Linked DNA regions of Homo sapiens: all the other regions are linked to region 7. Evidence: promoter capture Hi-C in 16 types of primary human blood cells and fetal thymus (Javierre and others, 2016). All regions are on one chromosome and are shown on one strand. The core of a region is centred on a gene start or on the middle of the fragment in contact, and the rest is flanking DNA. Distances in the headings are between cores, read along the strand shown.

What was found. Contacts are between HindIII fragments. The CHiCAGO score rates a contact against its expected background, and 5 or more counts as called.
Region 1: a contact is called between a fragment that was not itself captured here and the fragment with the promoter of KPNA5 in region 7, in 4 of 17 cell types (non-activated CD4 T cells, total CD8 T cells, fetal thymus and 1 more). The highest score is 9.6, in non-activated CD4 T cells.
Region 2: a contact is called between a fragment that was not itself captured here and the fragment with the promoter of KPNA5 in region 7, in 2 of 17 cell types (non-activated CD4 T cells and naive CD4 T cells). The highest score is 6.1, in non-activated CD4 T cells.
Region 3: a fragment that was not itself captured here is called in contact with the fragment with the promoter of KPNA5 in region 7 in 3 of 17 cell types (non-activated CD4 T cells, total CD8 T cells and naive CD4 T cells); the score reaches 7.6 in non-activated CD4 T cells.
Region 4: a contact is called between a fragment that was not itself captured here and the fragment with the promoter of KPNA5 in region 7, in 1 of 17 cell types (total CD4 T cells). The highest score is 6.5, in total CD4 T cells.
Region 5: a fragment that was not itself captured here is called in contact with the fragment with the promoter of KPNA5 in region 7 in 5 of 17 cell types (activated CD4 T cells, total CD8 T cells, fetal thymus and 2 more); the score reaches 15.8 in activated CD4 T cells.
Region 6: a fragment that was not itself captured here is called in contact with the fragment with the promoter of KPNA5 in region 7 in 2 of 17 cell types (total CD8 T cells and naive CD8 T cells); the score reaches 13.5 in total CD8 T cells.

Annotation. Positions count from the first base shown.
Region 1 is chr6:119,349,810-119,353,490 of GRCh38, reverse strand. It overlaps a transcript of MAN1A1 not described here. Among named protein-coding and RNA genes, the nearest start is that of MAN1A1, 1.9 kb to the right of the region's middle. RefSeq lists a silencer at 3,170-3,681. The HindIII fragment of the contact is 276 bases long and covers 1,778-2,053 here.
Region 2 is chr6:118,936,166-118,939,655 of GRCh38, reverse strand. All of the region lies in intron 1 of LOC124901389 (a long non-coding RNA gene), which reads right to left. Among named protein-coding and RNA genes, the nearest start is that of MCM9, 2.8 kb to the right of the region's middle. The HindIII fragment of the contact is 727 bases long and covers 1,289-2,015 here.
Region 3 is chr6:119,071,991-119,075,641 of GRCh38, reverse strand. All of the region lies in intron 1 of FAM184A (family with sequence similarity 184 member A), which reads left to right. Among named protein-coding and RNA genes, the nearest start is that of MIR548B, 4.7 kb to the right of the region's middle. The HindIII fragment of the contact is 1,135 bases long and covers 1,530-2,664 here.
Region 4 is chr6:119,333,304-119,337,079 of GRCh38, reverse strand. All of the region lies in intron 2 of MAN1A1 (mannosidase alpha class 1A member 1), which reads left to right. Among named protein-coding and RNA genes, the nearest start is that of MAN1A1, 15 kb to the left of the region's middle. The HindIII fragment of the contact is 2,233 bases long and covers 442-2,674 here.
Region 5 is chr6:113,965,698-113,969,044 of GRCh38, reverse strand. The region is part of intron 1 of HDAC2 (histone deacetylase 2); the gene reads left to right. Among named protein-coding and RNA genes, the nearest start is that of HDAC2-AS2, 2.3 kb to the left of the region's middle. The HindIII fragment of the contact is 2,076 bases long and covers 288-2,363 here.
Region 6 is chr6:119,314,264-119,317,535 of GRCh38, reverse strand. All of the region lies in intron 2 of MAN1A1 (mannosidase alpha class 1A member 1), which reads left to right. Among named protein-coding and RNA genes, the nearest start is that of MAN1A1, 34 kb to the left of the region's middle. The HindIII fragment of the contact is 2,493 bases long and covers 774-3,266 here.
Region 7 is chr6:116,679,767-116,683,218 of GRCh38, reverse strand. It overlaps KPNA5 (karyopherin subunit alpha 5), which reads right to left and starts at 2,008. Exons shown (of 14, transcript NM_001366306.2): 1 at 1,881-2,008. The coding sequence starts at 1,884. RefSeq lists enhancers at 446-1,427, 1,428-2,411. The HindIII fragment of the contact is 1,991 bases long and covers 502-2,492 here.

The DNA.
Region 1 (3,681 bases), core at 666-3,165, 2.7 Mb before region 7:
CCAAAGCACCATTTACAACCCTGTTTCTATGAAGAAAAATGCTCTGAAAGTTCCAAAGAGCCAATGCACACAAATACTTGCAGGACACAATGTTTTTAAGTTGGGGACAGTTAATATTTATGAAATGTGTTCAAAACAAAACCATATCTTTCAACAGGAGCCTGCAGGAACAGAGGGCTCCTGCCCTCACTGCCCCTGGCACCCACGCCCCCTCAAAAAAATGTGATTGGAATTCTATAAAAATAATCTGCCACTCAGGCAGTTCCAAAGTAAATTGAGGAAGAGCAAAAACATGGAATCAGAAATATAACAGTAGACTCCAATTTGCATACAAATAACACCGATAGTTTCCTTTAAAACTCTGGTTAATTTCCACCTTAATATATCTCATGTAAAATTGAGAGTGCCCATTGAAGTATTGAAACTTCAAGATTAATATTCACAATGAATCATTTTTTACGTATTACATTTGGATTTTTTAAAAAATAAGAGCAAAGACCTATTGTGACCTAGAAAATCTCCCATTAAAAGATTTTATCAGAAATCTAACTTGTTGGAGAATTTCAGTCATTATTTACTGTACATGTAGATTAAATTCATTTCTTTCACTAGATTAAGTTTTATTTAAAGTAAGAGAACAAAAATCCTCAAAAGGATTCTTCCACAAACTTCTAACTAGTACTGCCTAGAAACTTCCTAAGAAATGTTTTTGCACTTCAATTTTTGAGAACTTATAATTTTATAAAAATATAAATTTATCAGTTTTATAAAAATATTGCCAATTTTTCCTCTGTAAGTCTGCTCATAATTATTACTATATTTCATTTTAGGCATGTTAATGTAAAAATTAAATCTACCTTTTGGTAATTTCTTTTGAAAGTAGAAAAATCTAAGCAACAACATTTATTTGGGGATTTCTTTGTAGTGTTTTGTGGTATCACTGATGATCAGGTTTTTAAAAAATTACTTGATTCAAAGATATAATCTTGAAACACAAAAATTTACAAATTATCAAAGAAATACACAAAAACATTAAGTATTGAAAAAGGAAAATGTAAGAATTAAGTTTGCAAGCAAACCTGCAAAAATTACAAGAGAGTTATACTTCAAAAGGACTGGCTGGCCAAATAAAAAAACATAGCAAGTATTTTTTTAAAAATCCCACAAAATTACTAAGGTTCTTAGGTTTACATTAGACCATCCATAATGAGAAACAGCAATTTCAGCACTATCATTGCATTCATAAAGATGGTGACATTACCTTCAGGTAGATGTGGCTAGGGAGTCTTGACTTAGGGGACAAAGTCAAGGTTTCATTACTTAAAAGACAAGAACCAATCACCTTTATTTTTATCTCAGGGTACAAAGTACTTTTTTCAATGGTAGAATGTCAAGTGCTTTGTAGTACTGAAATCAGAGGAAAGTGTCCGATTTTGCTTCTACAAAATGCACAATTTTACTTGTTGACTATTTTCTACTCCTCCCTTACCATGAGCACACAGGGCTTCATGTGATTATTTTAAAGAGGATGCATAATTCGATTGCTATGCCTCTTCAGATACCTTCTTTGTGAATTTTTCAAATTTGCTCTGGCCCAAATATTGGTGTTCCTATATAGTTCTTATCCCACCTAATGTACACAGACACCCTTTAATATGTACCTATAATCAACCACCCATGTTAACTTCTTGTTTAACATATTATCAAAGCCAGGCTGCAAGTATAACCCTGTCATTTAAGAAATACGGAAAATAAGAAAAAAATCTTAAAATAAGCTTCATGATGAACTTAAAAAGAATAGTTACTTTAAAAGATGTAGAAACAACATAGATAAATTTAAAGTTTTTAGGGGAAAAAATCCTTAAACCCACGTACTAAATTTTTAATATTTCCACTACAGAAGTTAAATGCCCAAACTGATTTGGTATCAAAATTAAAGTGTCAGAAATAGAATTAAGTTATAACTTTTATTTATCACCATTTTAACATATACTTAAAAGTGGAATTTATTGTTTTGCTGGAATACTTAATAACATTAATTTGAAATAAAGCTTCTAAATATTTCCGGGGCTATAATTCCATTCTTACAACATAATTTTTAAAATAATAAATCATTCCAAAAAAGGATGATCATAAAGAGATTAGCGTTTGGGGTAGTTAACCCAGTTCCTATTTATCTATCCATTCAAGAGGTAACTCAGTTTTAAGGATGTTGTTAGAAACATTATTTCACAGTGATTCAAACCTTTCAGCCTATGCACAACCTACAAATGCATAATCGTTTGAAATAAAAATTGCCTTTCCATCATTAAAGAAAAATCATCTTTGTTTTCTTTTTCAGTCCTTCTGAACTTATTACCCTGCTTGGATATGCTGCACTCTTCTGGACATAGAATTTCATAGCAGGTATCAAAATAACCAAGCCATAAAGCCAGCTTTATCAAACAATAATTTCCTATTAACAAGAACTTTGAGTGTATTACTCATTTTACACAAAACAAGTAGACGACAAATAATGATGGTTAAAATTAATAATTAAATGATTAAATGAAAACTAGTAAGGATTTCTGATTACTTTTCTACTTTCTCATACAGCTTAACACCTGGAAACAACTGTACTGGAGCCACCTTCCCGAAAGGTGCCAGCTGTTTCCTTTGTCTTAAGCACAAACAGAACTAATGTCACATTTCCAGAGAAGGGTAAGGATGAAATAAGGCGACTACAAACCAGCTTTCAGAAATGCGAAGTCAGTCAACGTTTTCCTCTCTGATAACCCCTTATTTGTGGAGCAACAGGAGAATTACAACACATTTTGGAAAATAATTTCTATTGGACCAACTCCTCACTTCGCTGGAAGTAGTCGGATCCAAGACTTAATTTCAACACAGTGTTCGACTTATTGCTTGAAGCTACCGCAGCATAAAACTCGTCTTCGAATGGAAAATTTGACCAACTTCTATGAGGTAAATGAATAGTGAAAGTACGGGTGGGCGGGAGAGACATACAAGTTTTTTCGGTTTTTTGTTTTTTGGGGGAAGAAAGGGCGCATACGAAAAAAGTCCTAAGCAAGCACAGAACTGTGTCTCTTAGGATGTAAAAGGATGTTATACCAGAGAGCTCAAAAGCTCCCAGGGTCACGGCTCCCCTAACCGAGGGACTTGGGGTTTCACTGCTACCAGGCACCCGGGGAACCCCGGCCTTGGATAAAAAGAGGGTAACTGGAGTAAAGCCGTGCTTCTGAACGACCCAGCGCCCAGGACCCCCTGCCAGACCCCGCCTTTCCCGGGACCCCCTCGGGAGCGCCCCCGACCGCCCCGCACGGGTCGGAGGAGGAGGCAGAGAGGTCCCGCGCGGACCCAGGCGCCTCCCGGGCCAGTCGAGGATCAACCACCCCGGGGACCCCTGCCGAGGCCAGCGCAGGATAAACTCCCCGACCCCGAACTCTGCCTGCCGCTTCTCGGCGCTGGGCCTCAGCCACGGGTTCGACCGTCCTCCTCACCGCGGCTCCCGCCTACCTCGCGCCTCCCGGCCCCGCGACCTCCCCGCCGCCGGCCGGGCCCCGCCGAGGCTGCGCTTCCCGTAAACTCCCCGCCCCGCGCATCCCCCTCCTCGCCTCGGCCCCGCCCCCGCGGGACCCTGGGCGGCGCGTGATTGGCCCGGCCGCGCCGTCACTCTCCGGC
Region 2 (3,490 bases), core at 403-2,902, 2.3 Mb before region 7:
CTTTCCACTGTCACAGGGAAGCACTCACTTCAACGTAAAGTCCCATAATCTCTATGCTATCCCTCTCCCAAGTGCACAGATTCTCTCTCCACACCATGTGGACACTGCCCAGGTATGGGGGAGGGATGCATCTGCAATTCAAGACTGTCTTTCTTACCCTCTTCATTGATCTTTTAGTGATATGAAGTTAAAACCAGGTACTGTGAGTGCTCATCTGATTTTTGGTTCTTATAACTGTGTTCTTTGTGTAGACAGTTGTTAAGTTTGGTGTTCCTAAGGGGTGGAGGGGGAATGATTGGTAGAGCCTTGTTTTTAGCCATTTGCTCCACCCTTTAAATACTCTTCTTAGGAAGCCAAATCTATGCAGAATGAATCTGTAAATTCAGTAATGATCCTCTTAACACTGACTGAGTTTAAAGAGGACAGTTCTTTTCTGAGGAGGGGAGTGGAATCTATTAGAGAGCATGGCTTGAGTTTTTGTCAACCTCATGGACTATTCTCACAATAAAAACTGTAAAAATAAATTAAAGGGAGAAGTTACAAAATTAAAATCATGTAAAAAGGATGAGTTCATGTCCTTTGCAGGGACATGGATGAAGCTGGAAACCATCATTCTCAGCAAACTAACACAAGAACAGAAAACCAAACACCGCATGTTCTCACTCATACGTGGGATTTGAACAACGAGAACACATGGTCATAGGGAGGAGAACATCACACACTGGGGCCTGTCAGGGGATGTGGAGCTAGGGGAGGGATAGCATTAGAAGAAGTACCTAATGTAGATGACGGGTTGATGGGTGCAGCAAACTACCATGGCACATGTATACCTATGTAACAAACCTGCATGTTCTGCACATGTATCCCAGAACTTAAAGTATAATAAAAACATTGATGTATGTTAGCAAATTCAACAATATATAAAAAAGATGAATACATCATTACCAAATGGAGATTATTTCAGAAACGCGCAGTTGATCTAACATTCATGTATCAATTGATGTATTAGTTTCCCAGGGCTGCCATAACAAAGTACCACCAACTGAATGGCTCAGAACAAGCAAAATTTACTGTCTCACAGTTCTGGAGGCCAGAAGTACAAAATCCAAATATCAACAGGGAAATCCTCCTCCTGAAGGTGCTAGGGAGGGATCTGTCCAGGTCTCTCTCTTAGCTTCTGGTAATTTCAGGTGTTCCTTGGCTTGTAGATGGCCATCTTTTCTGTGTCTCTTCATGTGGTATTCTTGCTGTGTGTGTATCTGTGCCCAAATTTTCCTTTTTATAAGCTTTTTCTTTTTTCTTTTGAGACGGAGTCTTGCCCTGTCACCAGGCTACAGTGCAGTGGCGTGACCTTGGCTCACTGCAACCTCCACCTCCTGGGTTCAAGCAATTTTCCTGCCTCAGCCTCCCAAGTAGCTGGGACTACAGGCGCATGCCACCACACCCAGCTAATTTTTTTTTGTATTTTTAGTAGAGACGGTGTTCCACCATGTTGGCCGGGATGGTCTCAATCTCTTGACCTCATGATCCGCCCGCCTCGGCCTCCCAAAGTGCTGGGATTACAGGCGTGAGCCACTGTGCCCAGCCATAAAATTTATCCTTTTTATAAGGACACAAGTCATATTGGATTACTGCCCATCCTAATTCCTAATATCTCAATTACCTCTATAAAGACCTTATTTCCAAACAAGTGACATTTAAAGGGACTGGGGATTATAACTTCAATATATCTTTTTTGGAGGGACACAATTCAATCTATATATAAAATATGAAACTAAAAGAAAAAAAAAGCAAAGTGATCATTTCCACACATGTAGAAAAGCCTTAATGAAATCCAACATTCATTCTTGATAAAAGTGCTCAAATCTTCCTACATCTTAATAAAGGGCATCTACAAAAAACCCTGGGCTAACATCCATATTTAAGAGTAAAAGACTGATAACTTTCCCTCTAAGATCAGAAGCAAAGAAAGGATGTCTGGTCTCATCACTTTTATCCAACACCGTACTCAAGCTTCTAGTCAGTGCAAAAAGACAAGAAAAAGAAATAAAAGGCCTCCAGAATAGAAAGGAAGTAAAACTGTCTTTATTCATAGATAACAAATCCTGAATATATAGAAAATCTAGCAAAATCCACAAGAAAAGCTGTTAGAACTCATAAGTGGTTTTTACAAAATTGCAAATACAAGATTAATGTTAAAAATTCAATTATACCAGCCTGGGCAACATAGTGAGACCCTATCTCTACAAAAAAATACCAAAATATTAGCCAGGTGTGGTGGCACAGACCTATAATTCCAATGTATTAGTCTGTTTTCACACTGCTATAAAAAACTACCTGAGACTGGGCAATTTATGACAAAAAGAGGTTTAATTGACTCACAGTTCTGCAGGCTTAATAGAAAGCATGACTAGGAGGCCTCGGGAAACTTATATTCATGGCAGATGGCAAAGGGGAAGCAAGCACGTCTTACCATAGCAGAGCGGGAGAGAGAGGGAGAATGAGTGAGGGGGAACTGCCAGAGAGAGAGAATGAGTGAGGGGGAAGTGCCAGACACTTTCAAAAAACCTGATCTCATGAGAACTCACTATCATGAGAAGAGCAAGGGGGAAGTTCGCCCCATGATTCAATCACCTCCCACCAGACTCCTGGGGATTACAATTTAAGGTGAGATTTGGGTGGGGACACACAGCCAAACCATATCACCCAGCTACTTAGGGGGCTGAGGTAGGAGGATTGCTTGAACCTGGCAGACAGAGGTTGCAGTGGGCCATGATCACACCACTGCACTCCAGCCTGAGCAACAGAGCAAGAACCTGTAACAACAACAACAAAACCCCCAATCATATTTTTACACACTATCTGACATAGTTTGAGTATTTCTCCCTTCCAAATCTCATCTTAAAATCTGATCCCAAGTGTGGGGCCTAGTTGGGGGTGTCTGGGTCACAGGGGCAGATCCTTCAGGAAAACTTAGTGCTGCCATTGCATAATGAGTTCTCATTCTGTTAGTTGCCTCCAGAGCTGATTGTTAAAAAGAGCCTGACCACTACCTCCCCTTTCTCTTGCTTCTCTTCTGGCCATGTGATCTGCACAGGCAGCCTCCCCTTCACTGAGTGGAAGCAGCCTGAAGCCCTCACCAGAAGCAGCCTGCAGAAGTGTGAGCCAAATAAACCTCTTTTATTTGTAAATTATTCAGTCTCAGGCATTCCTTTTTAGCAACACAGACTAAGACACTATCAAAGAACAACTGAAAATTTAAAATGTCATTTACATAATATCAAGAAGTATATTTTTCCCCCATCCTTAGATTTATGGATAAATCTGACATAGGGTGATATGGTTTGGCTGTGTCCCTGCCCAAACCTCATCTTGAACTGTAGTTACCATAATCCCCAGGTGTTGTGGGAGGGACCCGGTGGGAGGTAACTGAATCATGGGGGTGGTTATTCCCATGCTGTTCTCTGATAGTGAGTGAGGTATCACAAGA
Region 3 (3,651 bases), core at 848-3,347, 2.4 Mb before region 7:
TAAATGTAACAATTAAAATTGGATTTTATTTCTTTTGGAAAGAAGTCAGTAGAACTCAACTCTTCAGCATTATAGCAGCAGCACACTTAAGAGCAGTGTGGGAACCTGACACACTGAGTTAAAATTCTCACTCCACCACTTACTACTATTGTGACCTTGAGCAAGCCATGAAACACTGAGCCTCAGTTTCCTCATCTTTAAAATAGGGATGATAGTACCTATTTTACAGAGTTGTAGCGGCACATAGTAGGCTCTTCATTCAGGCTGTCACTCACTGAAAAGACATATACCAATATGAGTATTAATAAAATATGGATATTTTAAAAATGCTTCTCTCCTTTTAAACCATTCTGCATTTAACAGCGTTGTGTGATAGTGTACTTATTTTGAGGGTTTTCTGCTAAACTCTTTAAAAATGTATATATAGTAGTTTTTTTTCTCCTTCGAATATCAAAGTTTAAAGGTTTCACATTTATTCTGCATTGTGGTAGAATGTTCTGAAAATACATTGTGCATGTTTCAAAGGTTTGGCTGGCTATGAAAGGATAAGCATGAAAAGTAATAAAGATTATAATTTTGCCCATAGCAAAGCTCAATATATTTTTAATTAAAAAGCAGTCTTTGCTGTATGCATATTTGTTCATATCCTATTTCCTAAGAGCCTAACATAGCTGCCTTCTCATGGTAAGGAGAACACCAGTTCTTTAAGCACCTTTTATGTAAGGGAGACTTTGGAAAATGTTACAGATACAGCAGGGAGCAAGACACAGTCCCTGCCTTTTAAAGGAAGTCTAGCATATTTGGGTCACTCGTGTCAAGTTTTAAGAATTAATATTAGATTCTTGAGCTACATTATGGCAAGTTTCTGCAAATGTTAATGGCTGAACTATCTCAAGATAGGCAGTGAAGCTGGATGGATTCAATTATGTTTTATAAGACCACATTTGTATACTTCTGTGCTCTCCACTGTGTTGACTTTTCAGGATATCAGGTTGAAAAGCAGGCCTTGTGGGATGTAATTATAAAAGCTTTTTTTTTGTCACTTTCAAATTACTTTTTTTCCCTTTTTGTCTCTTTCAATTTACTCTTTGAGACTGGTTCATCCTCTTTCATGGGTTAACTTAATTTTTCTGGTTGCTTTTAGATAATACAAATCATCCTTCAGTAACAAAGTCACAAAAGTCTCAATTTGATTATTAAAATTAAAATGCCCAGTACCAACAAGTAAAAACTGCAGACCAAGCCTGAAATAAAGATGAAGCTTCTCCCTTAACTGGTCTCTTGCTCTGTCTCTTGCAAGGGGGAAACCAGTAACTAGGGAAGGGGGTATTATTGCCTTTTTACTTCTTACCTGGTTTTTCTACTCTTCCTGCTTTGTCTTGCCAGTTCTGGTTTCTCACCCTTCCAAAGTTGGTCAAGGAAGAAGTGAAAAGAGTAAAGAGGAGCAGCAAACTTTTACTTGATTAGTGAAGAAGCTAGCTGGTGATCTAGTTTCAGTGCTTTTGTAGCCGTTGCAGATGTTTAAAGCTTATTCTTTCACTGGTGAATCTTCTACCTCCCACCTCAGTGGCTCTAGATTTTCACCTCAATTCCTTGACAGTGAGAATTCCCTTATGCGCTGATTGGTTGCTTACTCCTTCCTCAGCCTCTTGGAGCTAGCAGTACCTTCACCTCCACTTTGCTGAGGTCTGTGCAAACTCTAGATACCCCTCTTGCATGGACTTGTGTGATCCCACCCCAGGTTGTTCACTCTTCCGTAGAGGCCACATAGGGAGCACTCATTCTTTGCACAAACTCTGCTAGTGGTCCCAGTTCAGCCCTCTCTCTTGTTCTCACATGCCTCTTCATGCAGCTTCTCATCATTTAGATTTTCTGGGGATTAATCAGGTACCAGGTTAGCATGTTCTTCAAAGTGCTTGAGGCACATGTCAAGTTCTTCAAGTCATTCCCTCAAAGCCTTTTTCCCTAGGCTTTAGGTGTGGGACAAGCATCTTCCACCCTTCCCCCTTGAAGACACAGGCCCCTGTTACCACAGCTCTCCCCAGGGAAATCTCTGAAACCTACTCTGTAATCTTCTTGAAGCACCACCTCACTAGTGGTGGGGGTGGAAAGTAACACATCTCAGCACTCTTCTTTAGACTGCCTCTTGACATTTTCGAGAATGTTCTGGCAGCTGCTTTGGAATGTCATTTCTATCGTCTCTGGTTCTCAGCAGAAACTTCCCTTTTAATACCTTGTTATGTTAGCTGCTTATCAAATCCCTCTTTAGTTGATTGCACTTTTGATACAGAGTCTGTTTATCACTTAACTAGTATAGACATAAGTAATATATGGTACAGTGTAAGTTCCCAAACAGCAGGAAGTAGTTTATTTTGTGTTTTCTGTGCTTAGCATCAAGTCCTCTTATTTAATACCCAGCTTATGGCTCTTCTACTAAAACTGTCCTGACCAGCTACCCTTGTTGGGCTTTCCTTGCTGTGCGTTAGCATTGATTGTTGGTACCTCTTACTTGATACTTAATAATGCAAACTTGCAAATACTGTTTATTGTGTTTATAAATATACTTTGTTTTCATAATTTGACTGTAAGGTTCTCAGCTCTAGGGACTGTATCTTTTATTACATGTAACCTTAATATGAATGGTTTGCACATAGTACCAAAGCTTAATAAGTATTTACTGAAGAAGATGGTGGTCATAATGATACAGCAAGTAATTTTGTTATACAGCAGAGAAAGACAGTACTTTTTAGGAATTGTATCTGCTACTCTTCTGGGTTAATGATAGATCATTTCAGCTGAGTTAAATTATTCCTAAATATGTAAATGTTTATTGACTGCCCTTTAAACTGCTTCAAAAAGCTATTTTATTTCTTAATGTATTTTTGATGTAAAAAATACAAATATAATGTTCTTTGTCTACATTATAAGTATTTGACACTTCAGAATGTAGGTAATTAATATACTAGTTTCTTAGCAAATATAAAAAAGCCTTGTGATCAGTCATTTTATACTAACTCTGCTTTTACTATATCCAAAACCAGAATGTGTTTATATAACACCAAAACCAGTGAATTTTTCAAATAATACTATTTTCTGTACATGAAATAAATGATTTTTCACTAATTGGTTTGTTTGAATTATCTAGATACTCTTTCATAATAATTCTATATTGCTTATGACTTGAGTCTTTGAACAAGAATGGTAAGTGGCCTCATAAAACATAGCAATTGGCTGTGTTTCACCTTAGCACTAGTACATGCCAAATGCAGCATCTCTTTTTCTTTGTTACATTGTAGCTTTGCCATGCTGTTATGCAGTGGCTTGGATGTAATCTTTTAGTCATAGTGGAGTGGTTTGGATTAATTTGTTGCATTTTACTAATGGACACAAAAGCATAGTATCCTGTTAATTAACTGGTCACAAACTTATAAAGGGACTTCCTTTAGAGTTAAAGATTTAGAGTTAAAGGTTAAAGGTTTAGGTTGGGTGCCCTGGCTCATGCCTACAGTCCCAGCACTTTGGGAGGCCAAGGCAGGCAGATCACTTGAGGCCATGAGTTCGAGACCAGCCTGGCCAACATGGTGAAATCCCGTCTTTACAAAAAATACAAAAAATTAGCTGGTGTGGTGGTGGGTGCTTGTAATCCCAGCT
Region 4 (3,776 bases), core at 309-2,808, 2.7 Mb before region 7:
CAAATACAACACTGCTGAAATAAATGTAGATGATTGTGAGATTCCTTTAAAGGTCAACACTCGAATATAAAGATTCTGTTATTTTATTGAAAAGTGTTTATATCTACAGCCAGTATTTTTTTTTTAGATATGTTATTTTTAAAGTAGGTAGAGTCTTCATTTATTTTCTTTATTACCTAGAATACTGGACAGTATTTAATAAGGGTTGCCATTTTTCTTGTATTTCAATTTTATACAGGATATACCTAGAGTTGGTTTTGTTTTGTTTCCATTTTGGCAAAATTTTTTGAGAGATAAAGGTGTCTTAATGAGTAATGCTTACAGTACCACACTAAAATGAAAAGTCATAGGTTAGCTATTATTTTCCACTAGAGAAATCAGAATTACATAAACATGTTCCTCCCTAAGAAGGTGTGATATTTTGAGAAAGAGAAAGAAGCTTGGTTTTCTATTTCCCAATTTCATATTGTTTCTCCTGAAAAGTGCTGTGTCATATAAATAATTGCATGGTAGAGGCTCAATGAATTTTATGCATTTGTCAGTGGTCCCTTTTGCAGTTTATTCTACAGATGACTATTAATATTCCTAAAACATCACTTCTCTCGTATTGCCCAACTCAGGTTTTAATGGTCCTCCATTTCCTATAAAGTAATGATTCAGACTTCAACATGCATCAGAATCACCTGGAGGGCATGTTAAAACAGATTGCTGGTGCCGGGCGCAGTGGCTCACACCTGTAATCCCAGCACTTTGGGAGGCCGAAGGGAGGATCACTTGAGGCCAGGAATTCAAGACCAGCCTGGCCAACGTGGTAAAACCCTGTCTCTACGAAAAATACAAAAACTAGCCAGGTGTGGTGGCGTGAGCCTGTAGTCCCAGCTACTCGGGAGGCTGAGGCAGAAGAATCACTTGAACCCAGGAGGCGGAGGTTGCAGTGAACCGAGATTGTGCCACTGCACTCCAGCCTGGGTGACAGAGTGAGACTCTGTCTCAAAAAAAATAATAATAAAAAAATTTTGAAAGCCTGGAGTTTCTGATTCAGTAGGCCTGGGTGGGCCCCAGAATTTGCATTTTTAGCATGTTGCTAGGTGATACTGATGCTTCTGGTCCAGTGACTTCAGCTAGAAAAACATTTTGCTCTAGAATGAAGTCACAGTGAAGTCACAAATGTTTAGCTTGGCATCCGTAGTCTTCTGTAAATCTGCATCAGTTTATTTGTTGAGTTGTATCTCTGTTACTTCCCAGGAAGGACTGTGCTTCCACAAAACTTACATAGTTACTATCTCCAGAACACATGTCGTTTAGGATTTCACCTTGTTTACTTTATGGTTCTCAAAAGGAGAGTCTTCTCACTTGCTCAAAATCCATGTCCTCATGAAGCCCTCTCTACACTCTCAACCTTCACTGATTTCTCCCTTCTCCAAATTCCCATGTTATTGATTATTTCTATCTTTGGCCTGTGTGTCACTGATTTTGTGTGCATATATGTTATCTTTCAAGTAGATTTCAGACACCCTAGAAGTGGGGACACCTTTTTTATCTCATAGGTCCGTGGCCCAGAATTTGACAATAAAAGGCAATTCATCCTAAATGTAACCCAGATTAAGTATATCAACAAAATGTTTTATAAATGTGAGGCAGTATGGCAGAGTAGAAACACTTCTGTCCTCCCTTTCCACGCCTTTGAAATGGAGTTAATAATTCCTCTTTTTCAGAGTTGTTGTAAGAATTAAAATAGAAAATGTATGTGAATCTCTCAGCGCAATGCCTGGCATGTATCATTCATTATTCAATACATAGTATGTACTTACTAGCAGCTAGGAATTGGTAGGAGTGATAAGGAAAGGGGTTGGTAGGTAAATTGGATTCAGAAAGTCATTTCCAGGAAAGAAAAGTATGTTTTGGCTGCAGTATTGCTGTATTGACCAATAGCTTCTATTTTCTATTGTTGCCTCCCCTTTTAGTTGTTGTTGCCAAATTTCTCACTTCCTATGGCAGGAAAGTAAGCATTATTTTGCCTTGTTAGAATTGTTATTACACAGAAGGGATGCTCATCCTCAGGAAAACCATAGAGAGGGTGTTGAATGGAGTGGTTCCTCATTCATTCATCAGTGTCCAGTTACTTCTGACTTCTGGGCCTGCTGTCACACAACACTCAGATATGTGGGGAGGAAAGAAAGCCAGGGATAAAGAAATCTGGAGAAATACCTTCAGGGCATAGAAAGAAATAATTTTTGTGAGCTGAAAAGCTGAAAATGTTTCATTCAGAGATAACTACATGTGTAAATTTAGCTCAATAATTAGGCATATGGTGCTTTCATTTTAGGATGTATCCACCCTTTGTGATAATATCCGTTGATTATTAGAGCTGCTGCAGCTTTAACTACATTGGCAGCAGAGATTCCTAGTGCATTTAAGACAAGAATTCAAGAGTGAAATGGAAAACTGAATTAATAATTTGTTCTTGGGTGGTTTTAATCTGCTCCTTAAATGTAGTTTATGCCTGGAGGATTAGATTTGGAAACAGAACACCAACTAATGTTCTAAAAGTTTACTTCCTTTTATTGGAACATTATACTCTTAAAGATTTTCAGAAGAACATTTTGGCTGTTTTAGTCTTAACATACGAGGTACACTTAAGTTCTTATGATTCAACCTAAAACAATAGAAAGCTTTTAATCTATGATATAATTTTTAACTTTTAAAGTATTTCATGTTAGACTTCAAGGCAGGAATTGTTTAATAAAAACCAACTAATAAAAGGAAAGATATTCTTTGTTGGGCACGAGGATATTTGGGTCTCTTTTCCCAAGCTTTTTAAAATCCCCCTAGGTCTATATTTTTCAATCTTAGAATTTAAAATCTGCTTGCTGTTGATGGTAAAGAAAATAGGAAAATTAAAATCAAAGGTTATTTCTGTTTACTTCCCATACCTTGTCAAATGTTTCTAAAATTGATCGAAAATAAACCATTGTAATTTTATAAATTGAAAAAAGAGTTATATTCCAAGATATAGCATAGTAGGATGAGCTGAAATAGGAAGTTTAAAACAGGTGTCTTTGGGAGAGTTGGGGATGGTGATGCTTTCCATCTGCTTCTTGCTTAAAGCTTTAACTACGGTCCTATTAGAATATACCTGAGAGTCTGGGAAGTCAGTGTATTTGCTTCTGTGGTTGTAGTTCTCCACCCACCTGTGATCTGAAGAATTACACCCTAGGTTTTTATAAGGTAAAGGCACTAGAATTTAGACATTTAGAAGGGACTTCTTTGAAAACTAGGAAGAAGATGGGCAAAGTATAATACCAGGTATTGGTCTGAGTTAACCAGGAGTAGATTATTTATTAGAAAACTAGTCTGAATTTATGTATTCTTGATAAATACAGGTTTTGACAGAAATTCTCCACTTTTGACTGATCTGGTAATAGAGGTTGAGGATTTTATAGCCAGATATGCTGCAGGTAATCAGGTGTTAGTTCTAGCTTAATAATTAGCTTAATTTAGTATTAGCTGTCTTTTTCTGTGGTACTTTACCCATGCTCTTAATCATCTTCCATCCTTCAGTGTGTTCTGCTGGAGAGAGGCGGTACTAATGGTGCAAAGGCAGACATCAGGAGAGTTGCAGAAGTGGTATTATATATGTTACACACGTCAGAAGACTAGTCACCTTAATACTCAGTAATTGACTATGATTGGCAGCAGGGAATGAGCAGCCCTCTCGCTTCCTGGAACCTTGAGAGGTGAATTCCATACATTACCACTGGTGTTCAGAAGGATCA
Region 5 (3,347 bases), core at 76-2,575, 2.7 Mb after region 7:
CTAAAGTTTAGAGATTTATCCTTGTCAGGGCTTGGAGTAAAGAGGAAAATTTTGGTTAGGGAAAGTGGTACTGAGGTCCTTCTCGAAGCTGTCAGTTGGTGTTGGTAGTGATGGGCTCTGAGGAAGTAAGCTGCTTGTAATTTGTTGTCACCACAATGGAACCCTAGAACCAGGAGGGTACACTTGAGTAGCAGTTTCTGAACAGCGCTCTTGTCCTGGGCCCATTTATGATAACCTTCGTTGTGGGAATGGGAGCAGGCACGGGTACCCGGGAAAGGATGCAAGCTTGATAAGTAGGGTGGAAATATTTGTCTTGTGATTGTGACTTAATATGATACTTTATTGTAGCCCATTCACCTGCTTACGTGATGGCCAGCAACAAGTGAATAGCTGATAGTTTGGAAATCTCTGGTGGGTTATTTTGTCTTTTGTCTGTGACTCGTTTGTTAAAGTGGAGTTCCTAGTTGCTTATGTTTCACATACTCTTTTAATTTTTGTGGGAGGGAATTAAAATATTTTGCAGAGATTATTAATGTTTATATTATGCTAATTATTAATATGTGATAGTGTGCTGACCTCATCCAAAAACTTATATTTTTATTACCAGAGAACATTGTTTTGTCAGCTTACAAAAGTAGCAATACTAATTCTTTTTTTATTGTGAGAAGAGAATGCAAGGAAAGGAGCTTCTGTATCAAAGAATCGTGACTTTAAGGTATATAACATGGATTGGATTGGGAATGGGTTATATCTGTAGTAATAGGGTCTGAATTATCTGCTAGCCTAGGTTAGATGGTTTTAACTTCTTGGTAAAGGAAGTAGAAGGAAGAAAGTGAGTGAAAAAGAAAAGGACGGAAGTAGCAAATTCTATAACCATAGGAATCCTACCTTTAGGCTTCCTGGGGCTGTTAGGCACACGGAGCCTCTTGGCCACACAGAATGTCTGCCACTGAGGCTGTTTGCATCTTAATGAAAGAACTTTTAAATATATACATATTGTTCTCTGCACGTTATGTAATCTTCAGGTAACCCTTTAGGTCACTGAAACGTTGGTCCCAAGGGAACCTTCAGACATTGATGGATTAGGTATCCTTAAACCTTTGAAGAAAAGTAAGAGAAGTTATTACTTCTCTGACTGTAGCTATTGATCCATGCCTCCAAATTCCCAAAAACATACTTCTGAATCATGTTCCTTCTTTATACACTAGAAGATCATCAAGAATCTGTAAAATGATACAGCTAATTAGATAGTCACTAAGATCCCTTCTGGGCCTTAAAACGATGTGATTTTTCTCTACTTAAATATAATTAGCAGCTAAGCTGTGTTAGGCTCTAGTTATACCACTCACATTTTTAATACTGTATCTAGACATGTTTATGCTTTGTTTTGAATTAATCTTGAGGCCAAACATATTTAGTGCTTGTTTTTATGGTGTATACAGTATAATAGGGTTTATATACCTAATTTATGTAACTATACACAAATTTCTCTGTGCTCTATTTTTTCCTCCTCTGAGAGGGATGCATAATCAGTTTTGGAGACAAGTGGTCCAGAAAAAAACACTCAAAGACTGTATACAGATAAAACTATATAAATACAAAAGTTATCAAGATTAGGCCAGGTGTGGTGGCTCATGCCTATAATCTCAGCACTTTGGGAGACTGAGGCAGGCAAATCACCTGAGGTCGGGAGTTTGAGAAGAGCCTGGCCAACATGGCGAAACCCCGTCTCTACTAAAAATACAAAAATTAGCCAGGCGTGGTGGCAGGCACCAGTAGTCCCAGTTACTCGGGAGGCTGAGGCAGGAGAATGGCTTGAACCCAGGAGGTGCAGGTTGCAGTGAGCCAAGATAGTGCCATGGGCAACAAGAGCGAAACTCCGTCTCAAAAAAAAAAGTTACCAAGATGATACCTCCCAACGTACTCCTTCTTCAGCAAATTATAGAAATTCTACTTGGCAGCCAACGATTGTCAGATTTTCTTAGACTTGTATTTATGAGTAGTACCAAAGTCTTTTGCTGAATAACCTTTAATACAACTACATGGGTTCTTAGCTGTGGTATAAATCTTTATTATCCGTGAAATAGGTAATAATTTCTTTGGAGGCAAATAAGTGCTAAATTAATTATAGCAGCAGTTCATAAATACCAGTAATACTAATTGCACAATAAAACATGACTAAATAAGACTGAAATTTTCCTATACTTCTCTTTCCCCAGAAATCTTTTGCCTCTCTTTTCTTTCAAATTTTACCTCATCAGAGATGCTTTCTCCTATTACCTAAGTCCCTGTTATTGCCTTATTTTTCTTCCTTTTGGTTGTACCATATAACTTTTGTCTCTCTCCTCACTATAACATAAGCTTCATTAGGACAGTCTGTCTGTTTTGCTTGTGTTTGTATCTTCGCCAACTACATTTAAAAACGTAGCTTTTTTTTTTAATTAGTGATGAATAAATTATTAATTCCTTATACTTTTTTTTTTTTTTTGAGATGGAATTTTGCTCTTATTGCCCAGGCTGGAGTGCAGTGGCGTGATCCCAGCTCACTGCAACCTCCACTACCCTCCCGGGTTCAAGTGATTCTCTTGCCTCAGCCTCCCAAGTAGTTGAGATTACAGGCACGTGCCACCACCCCTGGCTAATTTTTGTATTTTTTAGTAGAGATGGGGGTTTTACCATGTTGGCCAGGCTGGTCTCGAACTCCTGACCTGGGGTGATCCACCCACCTCAGCCTCCCTAAGTGCTGGGATTACAGGCGTGAGCCACTGTGCCTGGCCAATTCCTTATTCTTATAGATAGAACGCTTTCATATAACGTTCCCTCTAATTCTTGAAACTACTCTGAACTACATTTAGGTAGGATGGGTGGCATTTTGGCATTTTTGGTATTGTTTAGATGAAAACAGATTCACATTTGTTTGGTGCAGTCTACCACTTTTCCTTTTCCACACTGACTGTAGTTTTAATGTTCAAGGAGAGTTCAACATCCGGAATCTTTATTTTTCTTTTTTCCTTTTCAAAGTGTTTCCTCTGCTACCAAACAAACAAAACTCCTTAACAAAAACTTTAAATGCTTCTGTTGACAAGTCCTTAAAGGAAAACACTTGGGATTGGAGAAGGCATCTCTTAGGGAATGTTAATAAATTCAAACTTGGAAGAATTCAAATCAAGTCTAAGGATTTTTTTGTACTGGTTATTAAGCCTTATTCCTCTGTATTTCAGTAGCAGTCTGCTTATTGTTACTTGTTCATTAAGCCAGCTTTGGGTTCAGACATATCAAATAGGCTTAAAGTTCCTACTGTGTGCCAAATAGACAAAAGATTGCTCAAGTCCTAAGAAGGAAATAAA
Region 6 (3,272 bases), core at 771-3,270, 2.6 Mb before region 7:
GAGGTACCTTAAATGCATGTTGCTAAGTGAAAGAAGTAACATGGCTACAATATAAAAGGCTACGTATTTTGTGATTCCAATTATATTTTGGATGAAACAAAACTATGCAGACAGTAAATTACTGGGGATTGGAGAGAGGGATGAATAAGCACAACATAGAGGATTTTCATGGCAGTGAAAATACTCTATGATACTATGGTAGTAAATACATGCCATTATACATTGTCAAAACCATTGAAATATACAACACTAAGAGTGAGCCTTAATGTAAATCATGGACTTTGGGTGGTAATGATGTGTCAGTGTAGGTCCATCAGTTGTAATAAGCGTACGATTCTCGTGCGTAATGTTGATAGTGAGGAGGTTGTGCCTTTGGGGTACAGAGGATATATAGGAACTTTGTACTTTCCACTCAGTTTTGCTGTGCATCTAAAACTTCTGTTTAAAAAAAAGTCTGTTTTAGAAAACATACACACACAAAAGAAAGGATAAAAGGGAAATACTTGTGCCCTACAATTCTCCTCTTGCTAACTGAAGAATGGGGCTTGACTCTAGGGATAGCTTGTTTCAAAAAAAAAAAAAAAGAATAATAATAATAAAAAAATGTAATTTAAAAAGGTAACTATATCTGACTTTGCTCATTTTAATGAAATTCAAGCTAATTCATTTTCATCGATCACTAAATAATTAGTAACTTTATTAACTACTAGTAATACTAGTGATAACCTCATAGTATTTGTAAAGTTTAAAAAAGGAATCTAAAAGAAAAAGCTTAGTCTTTATAAGGTTGACAAATCTATAAACAAATCTTTTAAAGATAGCACATTTCAATTTTAAAAATCATTTTGTCACTGCTGCAAAAATTAAAATGTGAAAATTTGAAGTTGTGGAATGATATATGTATGAGTTAGAATGTTTGGGCTTACCTTTTTATTACAAGTATTAAAAAAAAACTTTTGAGATTAGACATTACATGAAAATAGTATTTGTTTTCTATGGCACACTTTTTTAGCTCTCCTTAGGATATTAAGGGAGCATCTGTGATATCCCAGCAAGGAATACCTTTTTTTGGCTGGGCATGGTGGCTCACTCCTGTAATCCCAGCATTTTGGGAGGCCAAGGTGGGCAGATCACCTGAGCTCAGGAGTTCGAGACCAGCCTGGCTAACATGGCGAAACCCCGTCTCTACTAAAAATACAAAAATTAGCCAGGCACCTGTAATTCCAGCTGCTCAGGAGGCTGAGGCAGGACAATCGCTTGAACGCGGGAGGTGGAGATTGCAGTGAGCCAAGATCGCGCCACTGCATTCCAGCCTGGGCAACAAGAGCAAAACTCCATCTCAAAAAAAAAAAAAAAAAAACCCACAAAAATGAATATCTTTTTCTCTTGATCACTAAAGATCTGTAGTTGCTGATGCTTCCCATGTTGGGAAAGCCCTGTAAGATCTTGGCCTGGGGACCAAGTGAGGGAGATCACCTGTCACCACAGGCCTGCAAGGGGTCACTTGCTGGCCTCACATTGACCACAGAGGTCTTAGCACAGCTAATCTAATGAATTCAAAGTTTCCGTGTTAATTAAAAATCTGCCGAATAAACAGACCAAAAACCCTGAGGTTAAACCTTTAAACACAAAGTGACAACTTCTGAACTCAGTGACAGCTTCTGCCTGGAGACCATAGTCATCAACCACAAGACAGATATTTTTGATAAGGAAATAACTACAAATGGTAGACCCTAAGCTGATGCCAAACTGTTCTATGTAAGGAAAGTGTTCTCAGCAATAGTGCTTCCTTCCAAAAAGGAATGGACTAGATATTCACCTATGAATAAGCCCTTTTCTGACCTCTAACTTTTGAGTTGCTAAATTATAATCCCTTAGAATGTTTTAGAGAAATGGACTTATATTTTGGTCAAGTATTTCTTTATTCTTTTTCTTTTCCCCTGTACCCTCTGCCATTTGGTAACAGCACAAGAGTTTTTATAAAATAATGTCAAAATTTGGCCATAAAAAAAGAGAACCATTAAATGCATATGATCCAATTTTTTTAGCTAGAACTGGAAACACTGGGTTTTCCTTAGGAGAACGAGATACTTCTTAGAAACAGAACAATCTGTCCATTACAAGTAGTGATTACTAGAATTCTCATTTTTTAAAACTGGCTTTATCAGTCATTCTGACTCTTTTTCTAAAGAAATTGCTATTGCTAACCACGCTTTCATTTCACTGGGGAATTAATGCTCAGTGGCACATTAGAATTCATGCAATAGCATTAAATAATTACTGTTTCTTTATATATCTCCTGCCAACTTAGAAGTACATTAAAATTGGCTGTAGGAGAATTCAGGACACCTCAATCTGAAGAAAATCCCCATCCATATATATATATTCTCCACTCAGTAGATAAGAGGCAACCTCGAGTACCTGGCAACAAACGAATTGCACACATAGCAACAAGAAGTCGAGTAATACAGAAAGAGGAAAGAGAAGCTGGTCCACATTAGCTCCCGTGGTGGTAGTAAACTTCAGAAAATATCAGAGCTGTAGACAGCAGCTTGGCATGAGGAGAGGAATTCATGGTTTTCCATAAATCTAGTGACAGGCCAGGTCGAATAGGACAACACCATCTTGTCTGCCCCAGTAGCATACAGGGCAGGAGGAGAAAAGTTAGGTACAGAGCTGGAGCTGAGAGCCGAAGTGGAGGAGGAGGAAGGCTGTGAGAATTGAAGGATGTAGGGCAGGCAAGGAAAGGTGGTGCTGTGAGGGTCTTCAGTTGAGCCAGCTCCCAGTCCTGATTCGGCATGTGTCATTTTGGTGCCAGGCCTGGCCACAGCTTCTCAGACCCCAGATAGAGCTGCCTTCTGTGCATGGAGGAGCAGGAGGGCTCAGAGGCCTCAGATGACTGTCTGAGGTTTGCAAGCAGCAAAAAAGTGAGGGCTCTGTTCAGTGTATAGTGGAGAAAATCAGCGTGAGAGAGTTTCCAGCCTTGCTCTTCTCTACACTACCTTGGGCCTCAGCTTCATATGTAAAACAGGGATAATAATACCCCAGAGAGGGTGTTGTAAGGATTGGATGTGTTAAATTATATCAAATTCCCCTCACAGTGCAGTGTGGTAGCTGTTTGACAAAGTTAATTCACTTCCTCCTTTACAGCCTCGGCCTCCATAACCCATGATGACGACAGCTCCTACAGTTTGATTTGTAGAACAAAATAATACTTCTAAAATGTGAAACTACTGCTCATCCAGTGAAAGAATTGTTGAGAAGCTTACACA
Region 7 (3,452 bases), core at 759-3,258:
CTAGCATAAAATTCACAAAAAACAGAAATTTTTAAGAATGAAAGTTTTAAAAGGTAAACAAATAGAAGTTCTAATATTTTCTTACCACATCTGACTGGATCACCTTGTGCCCCACCACGCACACATACAAAGGCGCTACTTATGAGACCATTAATCCAAGCAACCACATTGTAACTGTTCAGCATAAATTTTAGCCAAATAAAATACAGCACCAACAACTCAGATATCACTTGTTCCTTTTTCTTCAATAGTACTGACTTCCGGCTTCAGATTTAACACTGCATCCATCCTCACTGCAGTTGCTTTAAAGGGGACAATAAACCAAGGGAAATTATCTCTAAAGGGGCCCCATCCAATGGGATTGTTTCGTTCACTGAAAAATAAATTTAAAGGCTGCACTTCAAAGGCTGAGGTCTCATAAAAATTAAATATTTTTATTTAGAAATGTTATTCCAGCACTTTAAAGTTACAGAATAGAGGAATTTTTTTCATTCATAAGCTTTCAACGGCTCTTAGAAAAACCATGTTTAAGTTGGGCAAATAACTGGAATCTGAACTTATGATTTTCTTTAATATCAATCGACATTATTTCTTATGCCAGTAAAGCCTTCATTTCCATGGGGCTGGGCGCCTCATTAGTGAAAGTAAAAGACTGCACAAAGCGGGGGAAGTGCCAACTAGAGAGCCCTCACAACCAAACAAGCAGTACTTAGGTCGGAGGGAGAGAGTTGCTCCTGACCTACCAAGAAAACCACTTTTGTACAGAATATGAGTCATCATTATTGGGTGTTGTAATTGAGAGATAAATCATTAGTGTTTTTGTCTTTTTTAAAAAACATGTCTAAAAAGCTCAAAAGTAAATGCCAGTGTCATATTCTTTTGTTTGTTTTTTGAGACAGAGTCTCGCTCTGTCGCCCGGGCTGGAGTGCAATGGCGCTCTCGGCTCACTGCAAGCTCCGCCGCCCGGGTTCACACCGTTCTCCTGCTTCAGCCTCCCGAGTCGCTGGGACTACAGGCGCCCACCACCATGCCAGGCTAATTTTTCCTTTTTTTGTATTTTTGGTATTTTTTTTGTATTTATTATTTTGTATTTTATTTTGTATTTTTTGTATTTTTGGTAGAGACGAGGTTTCACCGTGTTAGCCAGGATGGTCTCGATCTCCTGACCTCGTGATCCGCCCGCCTCCGCCTCCCAAAGTGCTGGGATTACAGGCGTGAGCCACCGCGCCCGCCGCCAATGTCATATTCTTTAGACATATCACTGTCATTTCACAGCTTTCAAATACTTCCATCTCCTATGTATTATCGATGAAAACCTAAGTTTTCATCTTAGAACGGAGCTGCCCGACTATTAGAAGCGTGGAACCCAGGCTTGCCTTGTCGTCGGGAATGAGCACTAGAGGCACCTGCACGCAGGTGGAGGAGGGAGGCTGGCGGATGGAGAGGGCGAGGCTAGGAGGCCCTCGGGATGGAACCTGTCTCTTCTTTGGACACTGTGGAATTTCCATAAGCTGCTGGACACAGCTGATGGGTACCAGGTATGAGTGGCAACGTTTGGCAATTCCATTAACTGAAAAGAACTACCGAGAAACGGTGAGGCGGGGCGGCGAAGATGAGACCAGCTGCCCATCACTCCAGAGGACCTGCTGAAAGAATCTGAACTCACCACGCCTTCGCGTCCGCAAGGGAAAGGTCCGGCTGCCACGCCCCCGCGACCGCTGTCGCCCTGGGGAAAACACGAGAAACACCCGGCACCGCCAGGTTCCAGAGACCTTCGCAAAGTAAGGGGTAAATAAAAACCGTGGCCCCAGGAACTAGTAGTTCCCAAAGGGACCAAAACCGAGGCTCCCCCAACCTAGCCCGTGTTCACTCCAACTTACCCATTAATGTGGCACTCTCCGATGCCCTGATTTCCCAGTCCCCAGCGGCGACGTGTGTGGCGGGTAACAGAAGGGCCGCCACTCCGCCCCTGGCGTGAAGCGTAGCGACCCAGTTCGCAATCCAAGATGGCGGCCACCTGCGCCCCTTCTCCGAGACCCCGAGGCTCGGCTCCCAGAAGCCCTTGCACTCGACGCGGCGGCGGCGGCGGCGGCGGCGGCGGCGGCGGAGGAGGAGTGGTGGCCGCACATCCTAGCAGTGGGGCGTAGAGAAAGTGCGCGCCGCCGTCCCACCCACCGAAGGAGGAGCCTGTGCCTGCGACAAGCCCTGGATTTTAGTTGCGCTTGCGGTGGCCATGCTGTAGGTACTCTGCGGCCCGTAGACCTCCGTGTGTGCAAAGGGACGACCCCTCATTCATTCATTCTTCACGCGTGCGTGCATGCATACATTCTTAAGGATATAAACTGTGTCAAGTACCATTTTAGATACATTATTGGGGCTACAACAGTGCAAAAAAGTTGGTAAAAATCGCAGCCTTGTTAAGTGTACGGAGAAGCTCACGTTTTCTTCAGCTTCATTAACTTTTATATGCTCTGCTCGTTTTATTTCAAGCTTTTTGTCATTTATAATTTTATATTCTATAACATCTGCGGTTTTTTGTTTTTGTTTTTCTGTTTTTGGGGGGTTTTTTTTGAGACGGAGTCTGGCGCTGTCACCAGGCTGGAGTGCAGTGATGCGATCTCGGCTCACTGCAACCTCCGCCTCCCAGGTTCAAGCGATTCTCCTGCCTCAGCCTCCCAAGTAGCTGGGACTACAGGCATGCGCCACCACGCCCAGCTAATTTTTGTATTTTTAGTAGAGACCAGGTTTCACCGTGTTGGCCAGGATGGTCTTGATCTCTTGACCTCCTGATCCGCCCGCCTCAGCCTCCCAAAGTGTTGGGATTACAGGCATGAGCCACCACACCCAGCCACATGAGTGTATTTTTGACAGCAATGTAGTCACCAATAAACGAGTAACTTCAGTTAAAGTACTGTAGATTATAATACACAGCCCTGTAATCTACCCTGGAGTTCAACAAACGGTATTGAAAACAGACTGTGTTCCAGATGCAATAGGAAGAGAATAAATAAGATAAACAATACATAAATCCTGCCCAGAAGACGTTTGCAATTTTTTAAGAGGAAAAACATGAAGACAAATTGTTTTAAGATGTTTGCTATTTTCAATAGTTGAAAAATAAACAGGAGAGAAGGGATTATTTAACTGTGGGTATGTAGGGCTGAGAAAGGCACGCTTGACAAAGGAAACCTGGGCAGTGTTACCAGAAAGCGTTGCCAATCATGAGTCCATATAGTGAAGTGAAAGCAAGTTTATTAAAGAAGTAAAGAAACAAAAGAATGGCTACTCCATAGGCAGAGCAGTGGCTTGGGCTGCTGGACTGAGTATATAGTTTTTTTGTGTGTTGTTTGTTTGTTTTGACACGGAGTCTTGCTCTGTCGCCCAGGCTGGAGTGCAGTGGCGCCATCTCGGCTCACTGCAAGCTCCGCCTCCCGGGTTCACGCCATTCTCCT